Regions from separate parts of the Homo sapiens genome. Here region 2 is linked to region 1. The links are contacts of gene promoters, found by promoter capture Hi-C in blood cells and fetal thymus (Javierre and others, 2016). All regions are on one chromosome and are shown on one strand. The core of a region is centred on a gene start or on the middle of the fragment in contact, and the rest is flanking DNA. Distances in the headings are between cores, read along the strand shown.

The links. The method cuts DNA at HindIII sites, captures the fragments that hold promoters and counts their contacts. A CHiCAGO score of 5 or more calls a contact.
Region 2: a contact is called between a fragment that was not itself captured here and the fragment with the promoter of RASAL2-AS1 in region 1, in 1 of 17 cell types (monocytes). The highest score is 7.2, in monocytes.

The regions. Positions count from the first base shown.
Region 1 is chr1:178,089,834-178,096,534 of GRCh38, forward strand. It overlaps RASAL2-AS1 (RASAL2 antisense RNA 1), which reads right to left and starts at 4,160. Exons shown (of 2, transcript NR_027982.1): 1 at 3,728-4,160; 2 at 1,675-3,579. It overlaps RASAL2 (RAS protein activator like 2), which reads left to right and starts at 4,271. Exons shown (of 18, transcript NM_170692.4): 1 at 4,271-4,861. The coding sequence starts at 4,660. RefSeq lists an enhancer at 3,747-4,248 and silencers at 3,870-3,919, 3,970-4,269, 4,340-4,499, 4,650-4,709. The HindIII fragment of the contact is 4,675 bases long and covers 2,662-6,701 here.
Region 2 is chr1:179,014,952-179,021,652 of GRCh38, forward strand. It overlaps a transcript of FAM20B not described here. Among named protein-coding and RNA genes, the nearest start is that of FAM20B, 7.6 kb to the right of the region's middle. RefSeq lists a cis regulatory region at 1,999-2,510. The HindIII fragment of the contact is 4,064 bases long and covers 2,184-6,247 here.

The DNA of each region.
Region 1 (6,701 bases), core at 2,910-5,409:
AAGGCAGGCAGGGGTGTGAGAGCTTTCTTGTAGTTCACACATAAAGGACTGTTTGCAAACTACAGTGTTAACTAAGACTTCATCAGCCAAGGATTTATCTTCACATTAAAATCTGGGTTGGCTCTGGGGAGATACCACTGGTGTAAGTTCAAGTAGGATTAACTGCCTCCCAGCAATGCAAATTGGTTTCCAACTTTTTTGTTTTGTTTTTTCTTCAATATTTTTTGGGATATTTTTCTTAAATGATAATAATTTGCAAAAACCATGAAATATTATTTTTGGTTCTACAAATGTCAGAACACCAAAGAAAAACACTCTTCAGGAATCCAGATCTATTAATGAAATTAAAAATTAGGGGACTTGAGTTTTAATCTCAATCTCCTAAGTAGCCATGTTTAGGTAGGTTGCTTAATACAATTCTATGCTTAATTTTTTTTTTAAATTCTCTAAATGATGATTTTAAAATACTGGTTCTACTTATCTCACAGAATTATTGTTCAGGTTGTGAAAGTATTTTCTTTCTTTCTTTTCTTTTTTTTGAGACAGGGTCTCATGCTGTTGCCCAGGCTGGAATGTAGTGGTGCAATTATGGTTCACTGCAGTCTCAAACTCCTGGACTCAAGTGATTCTCCTGCCTCAGCCTCCTGAGTAGCTGGGACTACAGGTGTTTGCAACCAGGCCCAGTTAATTTTTTTCTATTTTTTTGTAGAGATGAGGGTCTCACTATGTTGTCCAGGCTGGTCACAAACTCCTGGGGCTCAAGTGGTCCTCCTGCCTCAGCCTCTAAAAGCACTATGATTATAGGTGTAAGCCACCATGCCTGGCCTGTGAAAGTATTTTATTTTTAAGTTATGAACACTAGATAAATTTCAGACATACTATTACTTAGGCAATTAGATAATGACCTGCTGCTAGTCTGGGGTCAGGATAGGGAGGTGAAGCAGGGACCAGTATCTGGAACGTTTGGATTTAAAAAGTAGGATTATTGAAAATGGATTAAAGACTTAAATGTAAAACCCCAAACCATAAAAACCCTAGAAGAAAATCTAGGCAATACCATTCAGGACATAGGCATGGGCAAAGACTTCATGACTAAAACACCAAAAGCAATTGCAACAAAAGCCAAAATTGACAAATGGGATCTAATCCAACTAAAGAGCTTCTGCACAGCAAAAGAAACTATCATCAGAGTGAACAGGCAACCTACAGAATGGGAGAAAGTTTTGCAATCTACCCATCCGACAAAGGTCTAATGTCCAGAATCTACAAGGAACTTAGACAAATTTACAAGAAAAAAACAAACAACCCCATCAAAAAGTGGGCAAAGGATATGAACAGACACTTCTCAAAAGAAGACATTTATGCAGCCAATAAACATATGAAAAAAAGTTCATCATCATTGGTCATTAGAGAAATGCAAATCAAAACCACAGTGAGATACCACCTCACGCCAGTGAGAATGGTGATTATTAAAAAGTCAGGAAACAACAGATTCTGCCAAGGCTATGGAGAAATAGGAATGCTTTTACACTGTTGGTGGGAGTGTAAATTAGTTCAACCATTGTGGAAGACACTGTGGCGATTCCTCAAGGATCTAGAACCAAAATACCATTTGACCCAGCAATCCCATTACTGGGTATATACCCAAAGGATTATAAATCATTCTACTATAAAGACACATGCACATGTATGTTTATTGCAGTGCTATTTACAATAGCAAAGACTTGGAACCAACCCAAATGCCATCGATGATAGACTGGATAAAGACAATGTGGCACATATACACCATGGAATACTATGCAGCCATAAAAAAGAATGAGTTCATGTCATTTGCAGGGACATGGATGAAGCTGGGAGCCATCATTCTAAGCAAAGTAACACAACAGAAAACCAAACTCTGCATATTCTCACTTATAAGTGGGAGTTGAACGATGAGAACACATGGACACAGGGAGGGTAATATCACATACTGGGGCCTGTCGGGGCGTGGGGGAAAGGGGAGGGAGAGCATTAGGACAAATATCTAATGAATGCAGGGCTTAAAACCTAGATGACGGGTTGATAGATGCAGTAAACCACCATGTTTACTGTAACCACCATGTTACATAGGTATACATAGGCACATGTATACCTATGTAACAAACCTGCATGTTCTGCACATGTATCCCAGAACTTAAAGTTAAAAAAAAAATAGTAGGATTACTAAAAAAGCAGGATTACTGGCGGTTGGCAGAGGCCTTTTCTTGAGCTCAGGAATGGATGATGCCACTGAAAGAGCAGATGTGGAAATAAATTCTGGAAATGTTTCGCATACCACTTGTAATGCTGTTTTTAAGATAATTGCTTGGGTAAATAAATTCCTTATACATTGACTAGTAAAGAGATACTCAACTTTGTACATTTGATGCCATATTCACTTGCTGTCTAACTTATGTTACCATGGCATTAATTTAGTATAAATAAAAATGCTCTAGGTCTACTCAGTGCTGAGCCTTGAAATCTCAGCACTCAACATCTCTTATCCACTAAAGCACACACTGTTGTTTACACGTGGAAGACTGACTATGCAGCCAGTCTAGTAAGCAAGCAAGCAAGCAAGCAAGCAGGGTCCTAGATATTAAAAATGACCATTCCTGTAAACCATCAAGCCACAAATCAACAAGCTTAATCACAAAAGTTTCTTGAGGGAACAAAGTTGAAGTAATATCCATTGAGTCATTGTGGAACTATCTGTACTTGTGGTTGATTAGCCAGGTAAGCTGGTTTTTCCTCAGTTTCCTCACCTGTTAAACAAGAGGCAGAATGATGTTCTCTCTAAAACACTTCTTGCTTTGAAATACTATTACTCTAAATAAGACTTTGGAGAAACTCACAAAATACATCCTTGTTAACTCTCAATAAGCCCAAACAATATTCCAGGACCCCACAAAACCAGAAAACTAACAGGACCCCTTGTAGACCAGTCTCTTTGTGCAACGTAGGGAGAAAGGGCGGGGGGGACTAAAGAACCTCCCAAAAGGTATTAAAAATAGCAACATGTAATTATGAAAAATCTTGTTCCACATTAGGTAGCCACATTCAAGAAAAACTGTTGGAGATCTACTATGTCCAAGGCACGGTTTAAGTTATTACTGTTCAATTTTGAAATTATTATTGTTAACTTGTCAGTAATTTCTTAAACCTAAACTGGTGAAACTCTCCTTGGGTGGACATAAAAGTAAAGCCATGGCCAAGGAGGGAGACAGTCTACAAATAAACCAAAAATAAAATACAAGTGACATCATTAAAGGAAAAAAGCCAACACACTGCACAAAGATCAAAGACAAAACAGAGAAACATGTTTGGTTAATACTGGGCTTTGAGTATTTCATGTGCCTGAGAGGCCCGTCCGTCCATCCACACCACACTTCTTCACCATGCTGTTGCAAACCAATGACAAGTTCAGCTTCAGCGCGGACAGGGCGCAGGGCGCAGACCCTGTGCATATCCCAGAATCCCGGACCCACTGCCACTCCACTCTGGGAAGGAAGAAGGCGCTCCCCCTTGGGTGACTGTAAGATAAAGCAGCTTCTTCGATCTCTTTGTCCAATAAGAAAGAAACGTTGGCCCATAAAGAAAGAAAGAAACAAATAAATAGGAAAGGTGTGAGAAGGAAGGGAAGCTCCTTTCTTTTCTGTTTAAATTTCCCGCACCCTTTTACCTCCCCGCCTTCTCAAACGGTCTTTACTTTGAGCAGCAGAGACCCGGACCGCTCAATACCCGGCTATCCCTGGGAGGGTACTTGGAAAGTAGGCGGGACAGGCCGGATGAATAATTCGGTGTCCGACTTTTCCTGCCTGCGGCGCAGTCCCTCCCCGGCTTCGTTACTCGAGTGCACACGCGGCCGGGCTCTCGGCCCTCGATTGCTTCAGCCTATCACCCTGGGATGCCGCCTGCCGCTGCCGCCGCCGCCGCCGCCGCCACCGCCACCGCCACCGCCACCGCCACCGCCGTGGCTGCCGGGTTTGTGGGATCCGCCGCGGAGCAGGAGCCAGAGCTGTGGCCGGAGCTGTGGCCTGAGAGTCAGGGGGCGGGCAGGCTCATTCCAGAAGTGGGGGCCGAGGACAGGCGGGCTAGAACCCGGGGCCACCGCCCCCTACCCCTCCTCAGGCTGAGGGAACGGGCACTCGGAGCTTCTGAGGCGGCGGCGGCGGGAGCCGGTCAGAGGGGGCGGCCCCTGGCGGCGACGCCCCCAAGCCCAGCCCTGCCCGGCCCCGCTCCATCCCCAGCCAGAGCCTGGTCTGACCGCGAGAGACGCCGGCGGGGCTGAAGAAGGCGGCTCCGAGGAGGTGGGAGGGCGAGCCTCCCCTCCCGGGTTCTTCTGCGTCCTCTCCCGGGAGGGACCCACACACACCTGAGCCCGGACCCACCCTTGGTCGGGGCCACGCTGGATCCTCCTCCCGGCCTGGGTCCCGCCCGCCGACTGCAGGTGGGCTGCATCGCCCGAGCCTCGGGCAGTGGGCGACGGGGAAGGAGGTGAGAGGTGTCCGCGCCGGCTGCCGCTCGGGTCCCTGCCCTCGCTGCGCGCTCTCCTCCTCCCCTTACCGCAGGCAGGGCGCGGAGCCGCGCGCCAGCCCGCCCCGAAGCCGCCGCCTCGTCCCCCTCCCGCCTCGGGGCACCATGGAGCTCTCTCCGTCGTCCGGAGGAGCCGCGGAGGCGCTGTCCTGGCCGGAGATGTTCCCGGCGCTGGAGTCCGACTCGCCGCTGCCCCCGGAGGACCTGGACGCGGTTGTCCCAGTCAGTGGAGCCGTCGCCGGTGGCATGTTGGATCGGATCCTTCTGGAGTCCGTGTGCCAGCAACAGAGCTGGGTCCGGGTGTACGGTAAGGACCACAGGCCGTCTTAGAGGCTGGTGTTTCCTATTTTTGCTTGGGCTGAAATTCATTCCCTAAGTCACAGGCTCATTCCCAGTCCTCATCCGTGCTAGGTCAGTTTCCCACATCCCTTTTTGTTCTGGGGGTGCATTTCTGACAAGTTTCTTCAGACTATCACTTGGGCAGGGATGTCACTCAGTATGGTCTTTGGACCTCTTCAGACACCTGCAGTAAGTTTAATGCGGGAGTTGGGCTATCCAAGACGTAATTCTTAGGCGATTACTTCAAGGGAACAGCCAGGCAATCAATCTTCAAGAAGGTATGATGGAAAAACTCCATGAAACCAAGTGAATGGATTTTCGTCTCTTTTTATTGTTGAATGAGGCAAGACTGGAAACCAAGATATTATGAAAAAGCAGAGGATAAGCTAATGAATGAAAAAAATGCAAACTATGTATTTGGTGGGAGCAAGACTAATCTATAACCTCTGCCTGAACCTCACTCTCTCTAAAAGCAACCACTTATTCCAACGGGTGTGGATTGTTTCAGATTACACTATTGTTTCTGAATCTCGTTGTAAAGTGACTGGGTTGCCACTCAGCAGGTTAAAAGTGATGAACACACTAAAACTTTCCCTTTCTGCATTCCTGGTAACCACCTCTTTAATTAAAACTGAATGATGAGATTCTATTAGGGTGAGCCTTGTGGCAGCACTAAAACCATGCTGGTTTTGAAAACTCATAGCTTAAGGATTTATAGCCTGGCATTCAGGACTGAGCTGTGGCTTTCCAAAATATTGAAACGGCAAGATGTTTATCGCCTAGCTCACGTGACTGCAGAAGACATTAGTAACGTGGCTGAGTATAAGATGGCAAATTTGAAGCACCTGGGATCAAACACAATGTTAAGATGTTATCCTGCAGTCTTGTGCATCTAAGCCTGTAGTGATCAAGTACCTTATGTTTTTTTCTTTCATCTTTCTGAACAGGGTATATGCTTACTATTCAAGAGTGACCAAGACTTAGGTTTTTTTCTGTGTAGTTCAGTTGATTTGAAGACTTAATGTCCATCGCAAAGATCATAGAACTAGGAGTCCAGAGATCTCAGTTCTTGTCTCAGTTCTACCACTAAATGGCTATGGGATTTGGGGCAGATCGAGTCACATTTTTGGCTTGTGATTCCTCATCTGTAAAGTGAGTGGATTGGATTAAATCATCACTAGTGACCCTTTTAATCATAAAAATCCAGGAATTCTTCTTATAACCAGTTCTTAAGGATTTGTGTACCACTTTGTATTTTGCTGGCTGTTTCTTGATGTTACTCTACGTACCGGAAGATTTAAAGCAAAGGAGTGGGAGACGATGCAAGGTCACCCAGTTTGTTCTCAGCAAATTAGATTAAAAACTTTGGTGCCTGATTTTCCGTCTGCCTGCTAAATCCCACTTAGCTGGTCATTTAGAACAAAGGTTGGTGAGAATCTGAAAGTGCATATGAATTAGAGTATATTGTAGTTACAACGTTTTCCCATTCTATCATCTTTCTCTCCTTACACACTTCTTTGGCATACTGTTTATTTGTGTGATGTTAGAAATAGGGCCATGCTATTCTAAGAATACATGTATATGATAATTCGGTATTTCAGTATCCAAAACAATCTGGGTTCTCTGGACCTAGTGTTAACTATCGTTCTTCATTTGTAAGGACATAAAAGTCTACAAATGTATGTTGTTTTGTAGTCCATTCCTAGGGGTTGATTTGTGAAATATATATTGTATATTTTGTGTGTGTGTGTGTGTGTGTGTAAGAGAGAGAGAGAGTGAGAGCAAGTTTACATTATGTTTTTTTTCTT
Region 2 (6,701 bases), core at 2,966-5,465, 930 kb after region 1:
TAGGCAGGCACACAAGAACCTGGCCAGGCCCTTGCTGCTTTTCCTGATCCCTACTCCTTCCCAGACACGTCCTCAACACTCCTATAAAACCTGGCCACTTGGGGCTAGGCACGGTGGCTCATGCCTGTAATCCCAGCACTTTGGAAGGCCAAGGCGGGTGGATCACCTGAGGTCAGGAGTTCGAGACCATCCTGGCCAACATGGTGAAACCCCATCTCTGCTAAAAATACAAAAATTACCTGGCCATGGTGGCACATGCCTATAGTCTCAGCTACTCAGGAGGCTGAGGCAGGAGAACTGCTTGAACCTGGGAGGTGGAAGTTGCAGTGAGCCAAGATTACACCACTGCACTCCAGCCTGGGTGACAGAGCAAGACACTGTCTCAAAAAAAAAAAAAAAAAGTCTGGCCACCGGCTCTTCCACTCCTCCATGTCTCTGTTCATACTGATCCCTCTGCCTGGAGTGTCCTTCCCTCCCCTCTGTCCACCTAGTAAACCCCTCATTTTCTTTAGGCCCTACTCCAATCCACCTCTCTGTGAAGCCTTTCCTGACCACAGTGCCCTCCATTCATCTGCCCCAGGAACATTCATTCATTCCACAAGTAGTTATGCCCCACCTATGTGCTGGGAATTAGGACAGTTAAGGACCCTGCTCTTGGGGAGTACATTCATCTGGGCAAGACTGATAATCCTTGCTATATCATCCTGTATAATTTCAGAATGATTAAGGTGAAGGGCTGCAGAATGATAAGACACTCATGGCGGCCTTGCTGAGGGGATGCCAAGTAAGCAGATACCTGAGGAGTTCCTCCTAACCCTCCGTGTCCTGAGCACTCTGCATTCTTTTTTTTTTTTTTTTTTTTTTTTTGAGACAGGGTCTTGCTCTGTCACCCAGGCTGGAGTGCAGTAGTGTGATCTCGGCTTATTGCAACCTCCACCTCCCAGGTTCAAGCGATTCTCCCACTTCAGCCTCCCAAGCAGCTGGGACTACAGGTGCGTGCCACCGTGCCAGGTTAATTTTTTTAGGCTGGAGTGCAGTGGCGCAATCTCAGCTCACTGCAACCTCTGCCTCCTGGGTTCAAGCGATCCTCCTGCCTCAGCCTTCCAAGTAGCTGGGATTACAGGTGTGCACCACCATGCTAGGCTAATTTTTGTACTTTTAGTGGAGACAGCTGTCACCATGTTGGCCAGGATGGTCTCAAACTCCTGAACTCAGGTGATCCACCTGCCTCGGCCTCCCAAAATGCTGGGATTACAAGTGTGAGGCACCGTGCCCGGCTGTGAGCATTCTGCATTCTTTATGGTCTCTCCTTGGGAGGGTTGTGAGACTTAACAAATAAAAACATTGCATAGGACATACTTATACCAAAAAATTGTTCTTGAAATTCAAATTTAATGGGACCACCTGTGTTTTATCAGGCAACCCTACCCCTAGGACTCACTGCCCTGTGAGTTCAGAGAAGGAGCACCCTCAGGGCCCAGCACTGTGGCTGGCTGCAGTAGGCACTCAATAAACACTAAAAGAATGAGCCATTAAGCAGATGCATGAGCAGCACTTGCTAAGTTGTACTGTATTTTGCATTTGCTTGCTGACTCCCCACCTGCATCGCAAGCCCCTGCTTGCTGCGCAGGCAGTGTTAGATGGCATCCTCTGTACCTAATGCAGCCTGAGGAGTGGTTTAGGGAGAATGTATCTGCCTCTTACCATCTATTAGTGCCTCCCCTACTACCCCAAGTAATAATCAAATATGAAAAACAATTTTAGAATGTGGCAATATATGTAATGACATGGAAACTGAGAAACATTTTCTCAATCATATGTACATGAATAAAAACACCTTTGGAAAACTTTGCTATATTTATAGGCTGCAGTGTATAATCTATGAAAAAACTGCTTCCATCTAGTGCCCTAGCTACCCCTTTCCAACCAGACAGCCTCTACGAAACCCTTCCTCTTTTGGAATCGTGGAGCTGGCAAAAAGAGCTGACCAGTAGATGTCTGTTATACAAATGATGGCAGAATTTTACTGTGATTCTGGGCCTATGTGTCAATCTTCCCACTGGACTGGGATCCTGCACAGGCCAGCAAGGTGTCCTTATTGTCCCCAGGCCCAGCATGCAGCAGCAGCTCAGGAAATGGGGATTGAAAATCTATCAAGAGCCACATCTCATAGTTGACGTTAAAGCTTCCCCGAAGGAAGGCTGGTTCAAATGCACACCCCATGTTGCCCTCTGGAGATCAGCAATCCCATCAAGGCCCAGCCCAAACCACACACTGGCAAGCAGCCCAGAAAGGGTGTGGTCCAACTGCCCCACAAGTCCTGTGAATAAGCCCGGTCTTCACTCCCAGTTCATAAAAGGGCCACTGTCCCAGGGCAGCCTCAGCTCCTGTTGGTTTCAACTCAGAAGGAGAATGTTGTTGCTTGAGCCTCTTTTGAGCTTTAAAAAGGACAAGGAAAGGCACTGTACGGAGTGTTTTACTTTTGACTTTTTTTTCATGACTACAAACTGTTGGATATTGAAAACCTTGCATTTACTTGTGAATTGCCAGTCTGTGTTTGCGTATGGAGGAAGGTAAGATTTGCAGGGCTGGAATTATTTTCATTTTCCTTGTAAGTTTCTCCAGTACTTAGCTTTTCATTGAGCATTCTATATTTATTTCTGTGTCATTATGTCATTCTTTGGTGCATTTTATAACCTGTGATGCTGAAAGCTGCCTTCCTTCACATTGTGGGCTAGAGTCAGATAGGGCAATACAGTCACACAGCATCCACCAGAAGTTAGTGCCATGGAACACAGTCCTGAATAAGCACACCAATTTGCTACAAGAATGATCACAGAAAGACTGTGTATAATAGTATCAAAGAATAATTCAAAGACATAGGGTTAATTATTAGGGCACCATTTACTTGAATACAAGGGAAACCAAAAATAGCTTTATTTCATATATCAGAGCCAAAATAAGAAATAGGAAAAGAGGAGAAAGGAGAAAAATGAAAAACTGCAGACGTGTGAAAGATAATGAACTTTGCCTTTTCTTGAGTAAGCTGCTGATTAGCAGGCAGCTAGCTAAGAAGGCCAGAGGGTGTTCTGCCCTTGACATCTGGATGAATCATCAAAGAGGATAATTCCAGTTGCTTATGGATTCTCCAGGAGCCCTTGGAGTGGAACTGTGCTGTATCTGTGACAAGTTCCCTCTGTGTCACATGTGCCTGGGTCCTGGGAGAACACCTCCATCTCTGTTATGCCTCTCTGCCCTATGACCTTTATGTAAAAAGTCTCAATGTAAGCAGCCTAAATGTCTAACTTAAAAGGAACCAGCTAAACAAACCTCAGTATAACCTCAGCATGGAATACCAAAGATCTTTTTTTTTGAAACTGAGTTTCACTCTGTCGCCCAGGCTGGAGTACAATGGTACAATCTCAGCTCACTGCAAACTCCACCTCCCAGGTTCAAGCGATTTTCATGCCTCAGCCTCCCGAGTAGCTGGGATTATGGGTGCCCACCATCACGCCTGGCTAATTTTTTTATTTTTAGTAGAAGCGGGGTTTCACTATGTTGGCCAGGTTGGTCTCAAACTCCTGACCTCAGGTGATCCTCCCGCCTCAGCCTCCCAAAGTGCTAGGATTGCAGGCGTCAGCCACCATGCCCGGCCCCAAAGATCTTTTAAAAATGTTGTGATTTAAGAAAATGTTGTAGTAAAAATATGTAATAATGTAGAAGTTGTTCATGATATACCATTAAGTTATGAGTTTGTGGGGACACACTCATTCCATAGCATTAAATCTGTATCAGTCAAGGTTCTCTAGAGAAACAGAACCAATAGGATCTATGTATACATATATCTCTAGAAAGGGACTTATGAGAAGGTATTGGCTCACGTGAATATGGAGGTTGAGAAGTCCCACAATCTGCTGTCTGCAAGCCGAGGACCCAGGAAAGCTGGTCGTATAACCTGAGAGCCAGAGGGCCGATGGTATAGATTGCAGTCCAGATCTGAAGGCCTGAGAAGCAGGGGTAGCAACGGCAGGGGAAGATCCATATCCCAGCTAAAGTAGTCAGAGATCACATATTCAACCTTCTTCTACATTTTTGTTCTGTTTATACCCTGAACAGATTGGATGCAGTCCACGCACAGTGGGGAGGGCCATCTGCTTGACTCAGTTCACCAATTCAAATGCTAATCTTTTCCAGAAACACCCTAACAGATATATCTAGAAATAATATTTATCTGGGCATCCCATGGCCCAGTCAAGTTGACACATAAAATTAACTGTTGCCATAATCCAGTGGGGAGAAAATGGTGCCTGAACATGAGCAGTGGTTGGGTGGCTGGAAGGAAGGAGATGGATTGAGAACTCTCTAGCAGCCACAGTTGGCAGAACTTGGTGCTAATCAGAGGTGGGGGTGAGAAAAATGAGTCTAAGACAACTGATGATTTTGGTTGGATGACTGGTGGTCACATTAAGTGAGACCCTTTCTTTCTTTCTGGTTTTTTTTTTTGTTTGTTTGTTTCTTTTTTTTTTTTGAGATGGAGTTTTGCTCTTGTTGCCCAGGCTGGAGTGCAATGGCACGATCTTGGCTCACCGCAACCTCTCACTCCTGGGTTCAAGTGATTCTCCTGCCTCAGCCTCCCGAGTACCTGGGATTACAGGCATGTGCCACCATGCCCAGCTAATTTTGGATTTTTAGTAGAGATGGGGTTTCTCCATGTTGGTCAGGCTGGTCTCAAACTCCCGACCTCAGGTGATTTGCCCACCTCAGCCTCCCAAAGTGCCGAGATTACAGGTGTGGGCCACTGCGCCTGGCCGAGACCCTTTCTTGTGCATTGCCATGGTGAAAATACCAGCCTGGTATTACCATTTCTTTCAAAGCGTTGCTAACATCTCTGAAAATCCTAGCACACTCCCTTCAGTGGTCCCCTGTACTCCCTTGCCTGAGGGATCTCCCTGCCTACATGCCATGCCTCCTTATTTCACCCATGGGCCCCAGAGGGGTACAGCAGCCATCAGTGAGGTACTGGTTCTTTCTCCCTGGGCTTATAGTCCCACTGTGTTGAGTACCTTGTCTTCCTCTGTTCGGGTCACCTCCCTGTGCCACAAACATCTACCTTCCAGGAAAGGATCACAAACTGTAGGACTGAAGACTAGATTTCAACCCATAGATGTCTATGATTTGGCCTGCTCTGTGTATGTGTGTGTATACACACACACACACACACACACACACACACACACACACACACTTAAATGTAAATGCCTTTGAAGGAGGGACCAGGCTCTCTGGTATGTCATGTTCCCTCAACCCTTCTGGTTGCCTCACCTTTGGCCTGCTTTGCTCATTTCCCTTCATGCCTGACAGCCACAGGCTTCTGTATGTCTAAGCCCCACTGGAAGGAAAGATGTAGGGGGTCTGGTCCACCAAGGGGCAGCATCTGGACCAACAGGGCACTGGCTTTCTTCCTTGTCACATCTTTCTCATCCTTGCTCACAGCAGGATGAGCGCTTGGAGAGATGGCTGGCTTCCTACAGAAGGTTACCAAAAGACCAAGCTATCTTCCCTTGAAAATAAAACCCAATTGCCTGTATATTAGATTGAACTATATAAAATTGTCCATGTTCAACTTTGCCCTATAAAGATGACAATTTCACATGATTCAACCTATTAACATGGCCCTGGCTTAGTCGCTAGTAGGACAATGGTTCTCAGCCTTGGTTGCAAATTAGAATAAACTGGAGGTTTTAAAAAATACCCTTGCTAGGACCTCACCACAAGACTATTAAATTCAAATTTTTGCAGATGGGGGCAGGCATAGAGCTATTTAAAAAGCTCCTCTGGGCTGGGCACAATGGCTCAAGCCTGTAATCCCAGCACTTTGGGAGGCCAAGGCAGGAGGATCGCTTGAAGTCAGGAGTTTGAGGACAGCCTGGCCACTGTGGCAAAACCCCATCTCTACTAAAAATACAAAAATCAGCCAGGCATGGTGGCGCACGCCTGTAGTCACAGCTACTCGGGAGGCTGAGGCAGGAGAATCGCTTGAACTCAGGAGGCAGAGTTTGCAGTGAGCTGAGATTGCACCTCTGCACTCCAGCCTGGGCGACAGAGGGAGACTTTGTCTCAAAAAGAAAAAAAAGCTCCCCTACAGCCAGACTGATAATTGTCCTCTAGCACATCCCTCGGCCAGCCATGAGAAAGGCTCAAAGAGCCTTCTGCTGAACTCCTTACCACATTATCCATCGATGGTAGAAGCTTCCTGGCTTTCCAAGCAGGGTCTCAAAGAGAAGTCTGAGGAACCCAGAACTTCCATGTGACTGCAATTACTTCATGCATTGAATTGAGTCAATAAAAAACAGCTTCCATCACAACAAAAAAAAAATGTGTGTTAAATACCAATATGCCTGTGGTACCATCCTAGGCATATTACAAAAGTATTACCTTGTGGGAATTAGCAATCTGGAATTTGCAATTCTCTCTCCACCCAATCCCTTGAAAAGCCATATGTGGCATTAGAGAAATTCATAACAAACTGGAAAATGTCAAAGATGTGGCCCTGGACATTTACTGAAGCGTATATGCCACAACAAAGTGTACACTTTGGGGTAGTTAAACAAATTTCTATAGCCATACATGACAGTTAAGTGATACACAGCTTTGAGAGCCATAACTCCTCTGCATTTCTTACTAACTCTAGAAATCTAACA